4 separate regions of the Homo sapiens genome follow, and regions 2, 3 and 4 are each linked to region 1. Evidence: promoter capture Hi-C in 16 types of primary human blood cells and fetal thymus (Javierre and others, 2016). All regions are on one chromosome and are shown on one strand. The core of a region is centred on a gene start or on the middle of the fragment in contact, and the rest is flanking DNA. Distances in the headings are between cores, read along the strand shown.

The links. Contacts are between HindIII fragments. The CHiCAGO score rates a contact against its expected background, and 5 or more counts as called.
Region 2: a contact is called between a fragment that was not itself captured here and the fragment with the promoter of STOML3 in region 1, in 1 of 17 cell types (non-activated CD4 T cells). The highest score is 5.8, in non-activated CD4 T cells.
Region 3: a contact is called between the fragment with the promoter of SUPT20H here and the fragment with the promoter of STOML3 in region 1, in 5 of 17 cell types (total CD4 T cells, M2 macrophages, total CD8 T cells and 2 more). The highest score is 11.9, in total CD4 T cells.
Region 4: a fragment that was not itself captured here is called in contact with the fragment with the promoter of STOML3 in region 1 in 4 of 17 cell types (naive CD8 T cells, total CD4 T cells, M2 macrophages and 1 more); the score reaches 8.1 in naive CD8 T cells.

Annotation. Positions count from the first base shown.
Region 1 is chr13:38,989,391-38,992,153 of GRCh38, reverse strand. STOML3 (stomatin like 3) reads left to right here and starts at 1,323. Exons shown (of 7, transcript NM_145286.3): 1 at 1,323-1,484. The coding sequence starts at 1,433. The HindIII fragment of the contact is 645 bases long and covers 775-1,419 here.
Region 2 is chr13:37,106,549-37,109,564 of GRCh38, reverse strand. No RefSeq gene overlaps it. Among named protein-coding and RNA genes, the nearest start is that of CSNK1A1L, 2.4 kb to the right of the region's middle. The HindIII fragment of the contact is 1,828 bases long and covers 377-2,204 here.
Region 3 is chr13:37,057,994-37,061,042 of GRCh38, reverse strand. It overlaps SUPT20H (SPT20 homolog, SAGA complex component), which reads left to right and starts at 1,355. Exons shown (of 26, transcript NM_001014286.3): 1 at 1,355-1,484. RefSeq lists a silencer at 1,184-1,443. The HindIII fragment of the contact is 8,647 bases long and covers 1-3,049 here.
Region 4 is chr13:37,084,700-37,087,710 of GRCh38, reverse strand. No RefSeq gene overlaps it. Among named protein-coding and RNA genes, the nearest start is that of CSNK1A1L, 19 kb to the left of the region's middle. The HindIII fragment of the contact is 866 bases long and covers 1,227-2,092 here.

The sequences.
Region 1 (2,763 bases), core at 74-2,573:
TGTTTTCATTTGTGATTTATATATTCATTCATTCAGCAAGTATTGTTGAACATCAATCATGTGCCCACGTTGTTCTAATTGTTGCAGATGCAATGGAAATGTTAGACCAAGTCACTCTCCTCATGGAAATGTATAGTGCAAGGCAGGGGTCAGCAAACTTTTTTTGTGAAGGGACAAACAGTAAATATTTTAGGCCTTACAGCTTGTATGGTCTGTGTCACAACTACTCAAATCCACGGGTGCAGTGCAAAAGTGAGCACAGACAATACAAAAATGAAAGAGCTGGGCATGGTGGCTCATATCTACAATCCCAGCAGTTTGGGAGACCAAGGCTGAAGGATCATTTGAGCCCAGAGTTTGAGACCAGCCTGGGCAATATAGTGAGGCCCCATCTCTAAAAAAAAAAAAAATTAAAAATTAGCCAGGTATGGTGGTGTGCACCTGGAGTCCCAGCTGTTGAAGAGGCTGAGGTAGGAAGATTGCTTGAGCCTGGCAGGTCGAGATTGCAGTGAGCTGTGATTGTGCCACTGCACTCCAGCCTGGGCAACAGAGTGAAATCCTATCTCAAAAAAAAAAAAAAAAAAAAGAAAGCAACAAAAGGACATACTGTGTTCCAATAACACTTTATGTTTTAAAAACAAGTGGTAAATTAAATTTAGCTGGCAAGCTAAAGTTTGTCAATTCTTGGTCTAGAAGAAGAAACAGACACAAGCCAAAAAATTATGCATATGATAACACGTGCAAAGATCCGGTGGCGAGAAGACATATCAAGCTTTGGAGGCACTGATAGGAGACCAATGGAGCTGCTTCACGGAGAGACACATGAGTGAGGCTGGAAAGGGAGGAAGGGGCAGGCCAGCAGGGTCTTGTAGGACACTTAGGAGTTTGGTCTTTACAATATTGACAGTTGGCAATTTTTTGATTATTTTAAGCAGGATGAAGACATGATCAGATTTGAGTTTCAAAAGCTCACTCACTGCAGTGTTAGAATGAGTTGGGTTAAATTTTCTCATCTGAAACATAAGGATGGATACACTTGCCCTGTGTATTGAACAGGTCATTGTGTAATCAGTGATCACACAAGATTTATACAAGGTGCATAGAAGTGTTTTATGAAATATAAATGCTATAGAAAATTACACAGCAATATTTTACAGGAAGCAATACCACCAGATGGTCATATTCTTTCAAGTTTTTTCTGTGAACAAAGGCAGTCTGAACTCATAAAAGAAATCTTTTTGTTTATGTTATCAGGCTTCCCTCACCAGGGTAACTACCCCTTAGGGAGTTCACTAAAGAGAAGGAATGTCTTTCACTCTCTCATACTTTCTCCTCTCCCCTCTCCCAAGCACATCTGAGTTGCTGCCTGTTCTTCACACTTAGCTCCAAACCCATGAAAAATTGCCAAGTATAAAAGCTTCTCAAGAATGAGATGGATTCTAGGGTGTCTTCACCTGAGAAGCAAGATAAAGAGAATTTCGTGGGTAAGTTCCTTTTTCCTGTCTTAGGCTTGTTTTTTACATATATGGCAAAGCAGGAGTTGTAGCATTATAGACAGGTATAGAGTAAGTATGAGATATATTTGCAGAAATCGGCCTCAATTTCATTTATAGCCCAGGATTTTGAATTCATTGCTTATGCTGATTTCATTTGCTTCTTGAACGGCAGTCTATAACTTGCTTTATTTTTCCTTCAATTTTAGATAAAGTTGGTGTTTATCTTTGAATTTCTTCTTTCTGTATGAAATCCTTCTCAGGATTTTGAATTCATTGCTTATGCTGATTTCATTTGCTTCTTGAACAGCAGTCTATAACTTGCTTTATTTTTCATTCAATTTTAGATAGAATTGGTGTTTATCTTTGTATTTCTTCTTTTTGTATTAAATAACAAAGATATGTTGAAGAGGCTGACTTTTCTCCAACTTCAAACATTTTCTGATGATGCTGAGATTAAAAAGAAAAGTTGGTTTGAGCTGTATCCTGTTTGATAAATGGAGAGAAGTTGAGAAAAAAAACTTAGCTTATAAGTACCAACTACTATCATTAATACTAATGACTATTATGTGTTACAAAGCATTTTGCTTGCATTATCTCTTTCAATTTTACAATAATTCTGAGGTAGATCCTCTTAGAATCTCATTTTACAAATGAGAAAACTGAGCATTGGAAAGTTTAAAAAGTTGTTCAGAAAGTGATTATGATGATGGTGTGCGTGTGTGTGTGTGTGATGATGGTGTGAGTGTGCGTGTGTGTATGACCTAACCTGTGCTCTGTACCTTATGTTGCCAAAAAAGCCATAGTACATGTTAGAAATAGAGAACACGTTTGGCATTACTAATACATAAAAGAAAAAACTAGGCTGCATGCACTGGTGCATGCCCTGTAATCGCAGCACTTTGGAAGGCCAAGGCAGGCAGATCACTTGAGCTCAGGAGTTCGAGACCAGCCTGGGCAAAATGGCAAAAACTCATCTCTACAAAAAATACAAAATTTAGCCAGGTGTGGTGGCACATGCCTGTGGCTAAGTGGGAGGTTGAGGTGGGAGGATTGCTTGAGCCCAGGAGGTTTAGGCTTCAGTGAGCTGAGATTGCACCACTGTACTCCAGCCTGGGTGACAGAGTGAGACCCTGCCTAACAAAGAAAAAAAAATGGAATAAAGAAAGAAAAAAGAAAAAGTATACATTTAGAGACATTTACCTGAATTGGAAAAGAAACTTTTCTTTTGAAGTAGGCATGAAAAGCTTGAAGGCAGTAAATATCATCT
Region 2 (3,016 bases), core at 41-2,540, 1.9 Mb after region 1:
TGCAAGAAAAAGTAAAAGAGGTTACACAACTCCTCACTGCTCTGGAAGGAAGTCCAGAAAGGTGCCAGAATTGCAATAACTTCATGGGAACCAAACAAAATAAGTAATGATTTTTAAGGCTGAAATTGAACCCTACATTCTCAATATAGTAAAATTGGTATTTAAGTGTTTTCTTTTTTTCAGATAAACATATTGCAAGTTTCAAAATGAGTGAACAGAAAGATGCAGAGCCATGGAGAAAATATTCTTTCATGAAGAAAGAAAAATCCAGCACATTACAATGACGCCCTCTGCTGTGATTTTTGATACTACACCAAATAACCTCATTTCCAATAGTGTCTCACTGTCTTTGCAGTGCCAATACTTCCAAAAAGCTTTGAGGAAAAAATGACTTAAATCCTTCTATAAAGTTAGTCATCTCCAGGATCTTTTAAAATTGAAGTGATTGATTCTGGGTAATGTTATTCTGAACATAGTGTTTGAGCCACATAAATGTCAGTAAATCCCTTAGTGACAGCATTATTTATTTAAGAACATATTTTGATTTATTTTGTATTCTATTTAAATAGTTCCAAAAGGAGATTATATTCATGCCAAATGGTTTCTGTAATGACAACTGCCGACCCAATTTGATAGCCAAAAATTTTTTTTTTTAACTAAGAAATTTTTGTGTCTCAAATGACCATTCTACTAAAGTGTCTCCATTTCCTGGGAAAAGATACCAAGAAGCCCAGAAAATTAACCCCAAAATTCATATGAGACTAAAACCAATGCCATTTGAGTATCATTTCTTAATTGCCAAAAGCAGACACGGACTTACAGGGAAGTGAATAAAGCCTCCTTTGCAAGGTCCCTTCTAAGTGTTAGGAGTGGACAGGAGTTGTGAAGTATTTCAGGTGGGGAGGAGAAGTCAGATTGCAATGTGGAAGCATTTCTATGTAAGAATTTCTGGTCAATTGCATCAAGATAGCTTAGGGGATAAAAAAAAAGACTTGACCCTCTAACACTCAGGTAAATTGCAATGATTTCTTTTCCTAAGTTAAATATTTCATGCCTGTTTGTTGTTGTTCTTGTTGTTGTTGTTGTTGTTGTTTTCTTAAAGAGGGCCACAAAAAAAATTGTATAAAGTTCAGGACTGACAAAACCCGAATTGGCTGTTAAACAGTACAATACTACCCAGTACAATCCTGCCCAGAATACGTTATTTTACTTTTACTGGGGTCATCTTATATTAATAGAAATTATTTTAGAGGCAATTTTGAAATCAAGGCTAAATCATAGCTTTAAAATGCATTGGTAAAATACTTTATACAATTAAAGAAAAGAAACAGAACTAATATATTCCCAACAGTGAAGCCACCCAGCGTTCAGGAGCCTCTGGCTGTTGATGTCTATGTAGGGGTTAAAAGTACTGGCTTTGGAGGCAGGCTATCCTGGATTTCCATTCTGAATCCATCATTACCTACCTATGCCACCTTTGGTGAGTCACTCATGCCTGCAAATAGGAGGCATTCAATAACTATTTGTTGAATGAATGAATAAATAAAGAATGCATCAACCCCACACACTGTCCACAAAACTTTATGAAATACAGTAGTTCAATTTACTTCCATTTTAAAAACTATTTGTTGCACATCTTTTATGGAAAAATTTTGGACAAAAGGGTAGGAGGGGATGCAAGAGTTTAAGCAAAGTGTTGTTTGGGTTTAAAAAGAGTATTTATATTTGGTTGAGGAGATTGGAAAAGGTTTCATGGAGCAAACAGCATTTAAGGAAGAGCCCTGAGATTATTAGGATTAGACCTGGGCGATGGGAAAGATAAAGCAGGCTGGAAGCATTTCAGGCTGAGGAAACAACACCATAAGCCAAGACCCAAAGATGAAAAAATGCAGGGAGTATGTGTTCGGGGAAAAATCCGCAGTCCCACCGGCTTGTGGTAAGAGAATTCATGGGAGACTGGATTGGAAGCTATTCAGGGTCATATCATCACTTCAGTTACTGATCCTCCCCATTCTGGAGATGCTCACAACTTCCCTGTAAGTGAAGGTTCACCCAACCACCATTATAAGTTACACTTGACCTTCTTTATAGACAGTGCCTTTATTTAACTGGTACAAAAAAGTATGGGACTTAGTAAACAATAAATAAACTATAATTAAACTATTCTAGTTCCAGAATTGAAAGGGGATTTTTTGATTCAAGCTTTTGTCCATGTATGGGTTATCTGTAACTTTTTTGAATAGTGACTTCTCTCACATAGAGATTATTTGAATTTCAAGGTTCGTGTTGAAGCCATTGACTGGAAGACTGAACGGGAAGGAAGCATAATGGGCAGTGGGTTAACAACATAAATTTTATTCTTGGTTATTAGAAAGGAAATTGTTCTCCAGGCAAATTTCAACAAAGTTGGATGAGTAAATGAAAGAAATGCCATTCTAGTTGGTACGGTATAAAAAGTAACTACCTTGGGTCAGAATTCAGTTTCAAATTGGCCTCTGACACTTGTCTGTAGTGTGGTCTTGGGCAATTCATCTAACCTCTCTATGCCTTGATTTCCACTTGTATAAAATGAGAAGTACAATCATAATAATAAAATATGCCAGCAGTATACTGTATTACTATCCACCTGAGGTAGGAGTATGTATTTTCACCCCACTGTCTTTGGACCTGGCCATGTGATGTGTTTTGCCCAGTGGAATGTAACATTTGCCACTCCTTTTATTATGAGAACAGCATGCTCCTAAGGAGGCTGCTCTTTCAGCCTGCATTCTAGAACAAAGAGGACACAGGAAGCAGAGATGCAGCTGATCTACAGCTTACATAAAACCTGAATGATAAATAAACTTTGTCATTGTAAGCCACTGAGATTTGCGAGTTGTTCCTGCTGCAAAGCCAAGTAATATACTGCGCTACCCACCTCACATATTTGTCTGAAGTGGACTTTAAAAATGTTTTAAAGCACTTTATAATGTTCTATGCCCGTCTATGTCTCAAACCAGCTCCTTCTCTCGCCATA
Region 3 (3,049 bases), core at 106-2,605, 1.9 Mb after region 1:
TAAAATGAATGGTTCAGCTGCTGTAGAAACATTTGTTTATGGGTTCCTCAAATATTTTCACGTAGAATTACTATAAGACCCAGAAGTTCCACTATGTTTATACCCAAAAGAATTGAAAACAGGGACTCGAACAAATACTTGTATACAAATGTTCATATCATTGCTATTCACAATAGCCCGAAAGTGGAAACAACCCAAATGTCCATCAGTGGATGGACAGGTAAAACTGTGGCATCTAGGTACAGTGGAATAGTAGCCATAAAGAGACATGAAGTACCGATACATGCAACAAGGTGTACAAGGTGAACCTGCAAAAGATTATGCTACGAAGACAGACCAAAAGGTCACACATTCCATTTATATGAAATATCCGTAATAGGTACCACAGTTTGAAAGCTGATTGGCATTTGCCAGGGGCTGAGAGAGGGAGGAATGGGAGTAACCACTTAATGTGTTCGGATTTTATTTTGGAGTGTACTTTAATACACTTATAATGTGTGCAACCACTAACTCTAATTCCAAGACACTTTCATTCATTATGACCCTTGGCATTGTGAACGGCAAATAATAAATGCTCATTAAAAAGATTCACCCCAGGCCGTGCATGATGGCTCACGCCTGTAATCCCAGCACTTTGGGAGGCCAAGGCGGGTGGATCACTTGAGATGAGGAGTTCAAGAGCAGCCTGCCCAACATAGTGAAACAGTCTCTACTAAAAATACAAAAATTAGCCGGGTGTGGTGGTGCACGCCTATAATCCCAGCTACTCCGGAGACTGAGGCAGGGAGAATCGCTTGAACCCAGGAGGCAAAGGTTGCAGTTAGCTGAGATTTCTCCACTCCACTCCAGCCTGGGCGACAGAGCGAGACTCTGTCTGAAAAACAAACGAACAAACAAAACAAAACAGACCTTACAATGTGTGCTAGTAATGCGGTTTCTGAATTTTTAGAACCCTTCTCTGGGGTGGTTTTTTTAAAAACATAAACTCATTGGCAGTTGATATACTACAGAAGGTTGTACGCATTGGACTAGTAAATGTAGGTAACGGTGTCGCTGTTTTTCCATTTGTATGTGCTAAGCAAAGAGAAAAGCTAGTTCTATGTTTCTTCCACTCTAGAAATTCAACAGGGTCGTTTTTCCCCAAATTCACATCTACACCCTCCCTCCCACTTTGCGGACTCGGACTCCAGGATTGAGCAGAGATCCTGGGCCCCGCCTCCCGCCCGGACGCAAGTCTCTGCGGGCCTCACCGGCGTCCTGCGCGGAACGCAGCGCTCCAGGCTCCTGGCAGCGGCCCCGCCCTCCCGGCTCCTCCCCTTCCGCCCGCCTTCCCCGCCCCTCGGCCCAGCCTGCCAATCGGAAGTGCGGCCGCCGGAACTGGCTGTTGGTGGGGGTGCAGCACTGAGCCGCCGACGGGGCGGGTGGGCTTTGCTGCCGAGCAGGCGGCGCCGTCTTGGGGCCTAGCGGCGAGGCGACCCGCACAGGTGGGCGGTGGCGGTAGGTGGGTGGCCAGCGACTGGCAACGCGGTGGCTTAGACGCGCGAGATCCGGCCAGGGTCAGAGGTGAGCGGGCCGCATCCCAGAGCCCGCTGGAGGAAGACGGGGTCCCCAGAGACCCGGCAGGCCGGGGCGGAGGTTGAGGCAGCTAAACTCCAGGTGGACGCCTACATCGCCTTTCGCGGTGTTGCTAAGCCGAACTTTTAATTTTAGTTTGACTTTTGGGTTCCAGAGACGGGTATTTCCGGACACTGGCAAGAATTTTGCCTTGCGTGTCTTCGAAGGCGGTTTTCTTGGTGTCCATATTGCATAAAGGCTTGTCGCTCCTCTGTGGAGATGACGGTTGTACAGGTAAAGCCTAAGTTGTGACAAAAGCTCCTGCAATGGGAAGACTCTGGTCGATCAGGGAAATCAGTAGAATTGATAGCAACGCGTAGAATTGATAGCAACGCTTAGAATTGGATTAATTACTGGCCATGGTTACCCGGCGCTCAGAAATGAACTTGGAGAACAGTTGCCCTGGAAGCCATCTCCCGTAGCCACTGCGTAGTGGGGGCCGCGTCTTCTTGAGTGCAATTCATCAAAGTCTCTAGTAGGACTCAAAATATAAAGTGACGAGCAGGATTTTCGGAGTCGAGTACAGTGTACTTGGGTTGATCACCATGTTATAAAGTTAGATCCAAATTAAGAAATACATATTCGTCTCTGAGCAGAATTGGGTCCTTTTTTTAATTGCTTTGCTTTTTTTAAAGAAATGTAAAAACAGATGCCGGTTTGATTAGTTTGCAGGTTGTAATATTGGAAGGGACCTAAGATTGGACACAGAGTTCTGAATTCTGATCTAGGTCTGTGATGTTAGGAAAGTCAGTTGTTCTGATTGCCTTATTCTGTAAAACGGAAATGATAATGATTACAGTTTCCTCACAGGTTCTAGTAAATTCTGTGTATAGACAGAATGTTTGCTTTGTGAGAGATATGAAGTTATTAGTTTTTGTCTGAAGTACTTAAATAATTTAAAGTTAGTAAGCCCCCATCCCCAATTTAGTGACAAGAAATCTTAAAGTCATCACATTTTGTCCGAAAAGTACATAGTGTATCTTCATCTTCAAATTCAGTGGTCAGAAAATTTTCACGTTCACCTAAATTCAACTTAAACCTCCTACGAGCTTTTCAAGGGTAGGAGTAATATCTTACTCATTGTAAATGATCGTAAATCATTTACAGTTGTATGGTGCTTGTGTTTGTGTTGTATTAGGAGGTTAGTCCATTTTTTAAAGTTTCAGACGGAGTTTCACTCTTGTTGTCCAGGCTGGAGTGCAATGGGGCGATCCTGGCTCACTGCAACCTCTGCCTCCCAGTTCAAGCCATTCTCCTGCCTCAGCCTCCGGAGTAGCTGGGATTACAGGTGTGTGCCAACACACCCGGCTAATTTTTAATTTTTTTAGTAGAGACTGGGTTTCACCATTGTTGGTCAGGCTGGTCTCGAATTCCTGACCTCAAGTGACCCACCCGCTTCTGCCTCTTACAGGCCTGAGCCACCGCCCCAGCCAAC
Region 4 (3,011 bases), core at 410-2,909, 1.9 Mb after region 1:
CATAGCAACTCCTCAGTCACTTTTGGGGAAGGAAAAATATTTCGCCATCATTATATACTTTACACTTGCACAGAAACTGTGCTTCTCCTTTTTCCCTTTCTTTTCTTAACCTTGACTAACTAAATAACTGTGAAAGCATTCTCAACATTTAATGAGTCTATTTTTTTTTTAGTTACTTTAAATACTATACTGCCTACGAGTAATTTGTGGAGACACATGTGGCCACATAGGTGGGCAGAGTGACCAGCCTGGCCGCAATACAGTTAAGGCCACCTTGTGTTTGTCAACATCACTCATCTTGCTCTTTCATGGCTATGCTGCCCCAAAATCATTGCATTATTGTCAGCAGCCTGAAAATTATAAGAAGACAACATATCCTCTATCTCAACCAATAATTATTATTTGCAAATTCTCCTTTTCTATCAAAAAAAGTTTCTTTTTCTCTTTTGCCAGCTACTTTTGATCCATTTTCATGACCTCTTGCTTCTTTTTTACTGGCCCTTTTGGATCTGATGCTGTCTTTCTGTTTTCACAGTGTGATGGTTAATACTGAGTGTCAACTTGATTGGATTGAAGGATGCAAAGTATTGATCCTGGGTGTGTCTGTGAGGGTGTTGCCAAAAGAGATTAACATTTGAGTCAGTGGACGAGGAAAGGCAGACCCACCCTTAACCTGGGTGGGCACAGTCTAATCAGCTGCCAGCATAGCTAGAAAATAAGCAAGCAGAAAAACATGAAAAGAGAGACTGACCTAGCCTCCCAGCCTACATCTTTCTCCCATGATGGATGCTTCCTGACCTCGAATATCGGACTCCAAGTTCTTCAGTTTTGGAACTCGGACTGGCTCTCCTTGCTCCTCAGCCTGCAGACGGCCTATTGTGGGACCTTGGGATCCTACGAGTTAATACTTAATAAACTCCCCTTTACATATATGTATTCCATTAGTTCTGTCCCTGTAGAGAACCCTAATACACACAGTCATGGCCTTTTTCAGATCTGATTTAAGACAGCTCTCAGCTGCTCTTCGTTGTGTGGCTCGTGATAATGTGTTAAAATATGCTCACAAATCCACTGTCTACTGTATTCAATCCAGGCTCCTCCACCTTCTCACTTTATGCTATGGTCTTAATATCAGTGTCTTTCCAAAGTTCATATGTTGGAACCTGATACCCAATGTGAGAGTATTAAGAAGTGAGACCTTTAGGAGGTAATTAAGTCATGAAGCTTCATACTCATGAATGAGATTATTGCCCTTATAGAAGAGGGCTAGGAGAGCCCATTTGCCCCTTTTTCCCTGTGAGGACACATAGAAGTTGCCATCTACAAAGAATGAGCCCTCATCAGACACTGAATCTGCTACCACCTTGATCTTGGACTACCCAGCCTCCAGAACTATAGGCAACAAATTCCTGTTGTTTAAAAGTACCCAGTCTAAGCTATTTCGTTATAACAGCAAGAACAGACTAAGCCACCTTACCACTCAGTACTCCCTCCTCTTTCTCCTTCTCACCTACCACCTCCAATTTCTCTTCTCAATTCTCTCAGTTGATCTTCTTTTAAGCTGTTTTTTAAAAGTCCAGCTAGGTCACTATCCTTTTTGGGGTTCACTCCATCAAAGTTTATTTTTTTAAGTTAAAAAGAAAAATCATATTAAAAAAAAACTGATTTTCACAGCACAATTCCTGGGAGCAATTTTATGATAAAAGTGAAAAGGAGAAAACTGTGTGATTTGAAATTTTAACTTGATAAAAATGCTTTCTAGGTTTTATTGTTCCAATTGATTAGTTAAGTAACACACTAAATGTTTCCATATGTCAGTGACTTCATTATTATGAACAAATAAACTGACCTAAATACAAGCCAAAAGAGATTACTCAACGAAATCTGTGATTGTTGGATGAAAAAATATAATTAAACTCTAGCCAAGAAGAGTAAAGGGTTATAATAAAAAAAAAAATACTGCATACAGTTCTGGTCACATAGAAACACAGTCAATTTCTAAATCCTCTTTAAACACTTTTTAAAAAGAACAGCAACAGTGTGCTTCTAAGAGAGTCAATCGACTAAAAAGGTTTTTCTACATTTAGAAGCTTATTGTCATTTAAGCCTACTCTGTCTGAAGAGGTGGTTCGTATTGAACAGGAAGTCTTAAAAACTCTTGGCCGGGCGAGGTGGCTCATGCCTGTAATCGCAGGACTGTGGGAGGCCGAGGCGGGCAGATTACCTGAGGTCAGGAGTTCCAGACCAGCCTGGCCAACGTGGTGAAACCCAATCTCAACTAAAAATACAAAAATTAGCCAGGCATGGTGGCACACGCCTGCAATGCCAGCTACTCAGGAGGCTGAGGCAGGAGAATTGCTTGAGCCTGGGAGACGGAGGTTGCAGTGAGCGGAGATCGTGCCACTCCAGCCTGGCTGACAGGGCAAGACTCTGTCTCAAAAAAAAAAAAAAAAAACTGTTGCCAAAATTCTCACCAAAAATATCTAAGATATATTAATACAAACTACCCAATGTGCGTTAGTCAGACAAACTCTAAAAATTATGATTTTTTTTTTTTGAGATGGAGTCTCCCTCTGTCGCCCAGGCTGGAGTGCAGCGGCGCCATCTCAGCTCACTGCAACCTCCGCCTACGGAGTTCAAGCAATTCTCCTGCCTCAGCCTCCCGAGTAGCTGGGACTACAGGCACACGCCGCTACGCCCGGCTAATTTTTGTATTTTTAGTAGAGACAGGGTTTGACTATGTTGGCCAGGCTTGTCTCGAGCTCCTGACCTCGTGATCCACTCACCTCGGCCTCCCAAAGCGCTGGGATTAGAGGCCTGAGCCACCATGCCTGGCCTAAAAACTATGATTTTTAGCAGAATACTGAAATTATGATTTACAGTCTTCTTGCGACATTTGTATTAATACAGCATCTCTCCATAGAAACTAATTGAACGGCAAAGGCTAAATCTCATACTATGGCCAATTTACAAGGCCAACAATATGACATGTAGATTGATCATCAGGCAAA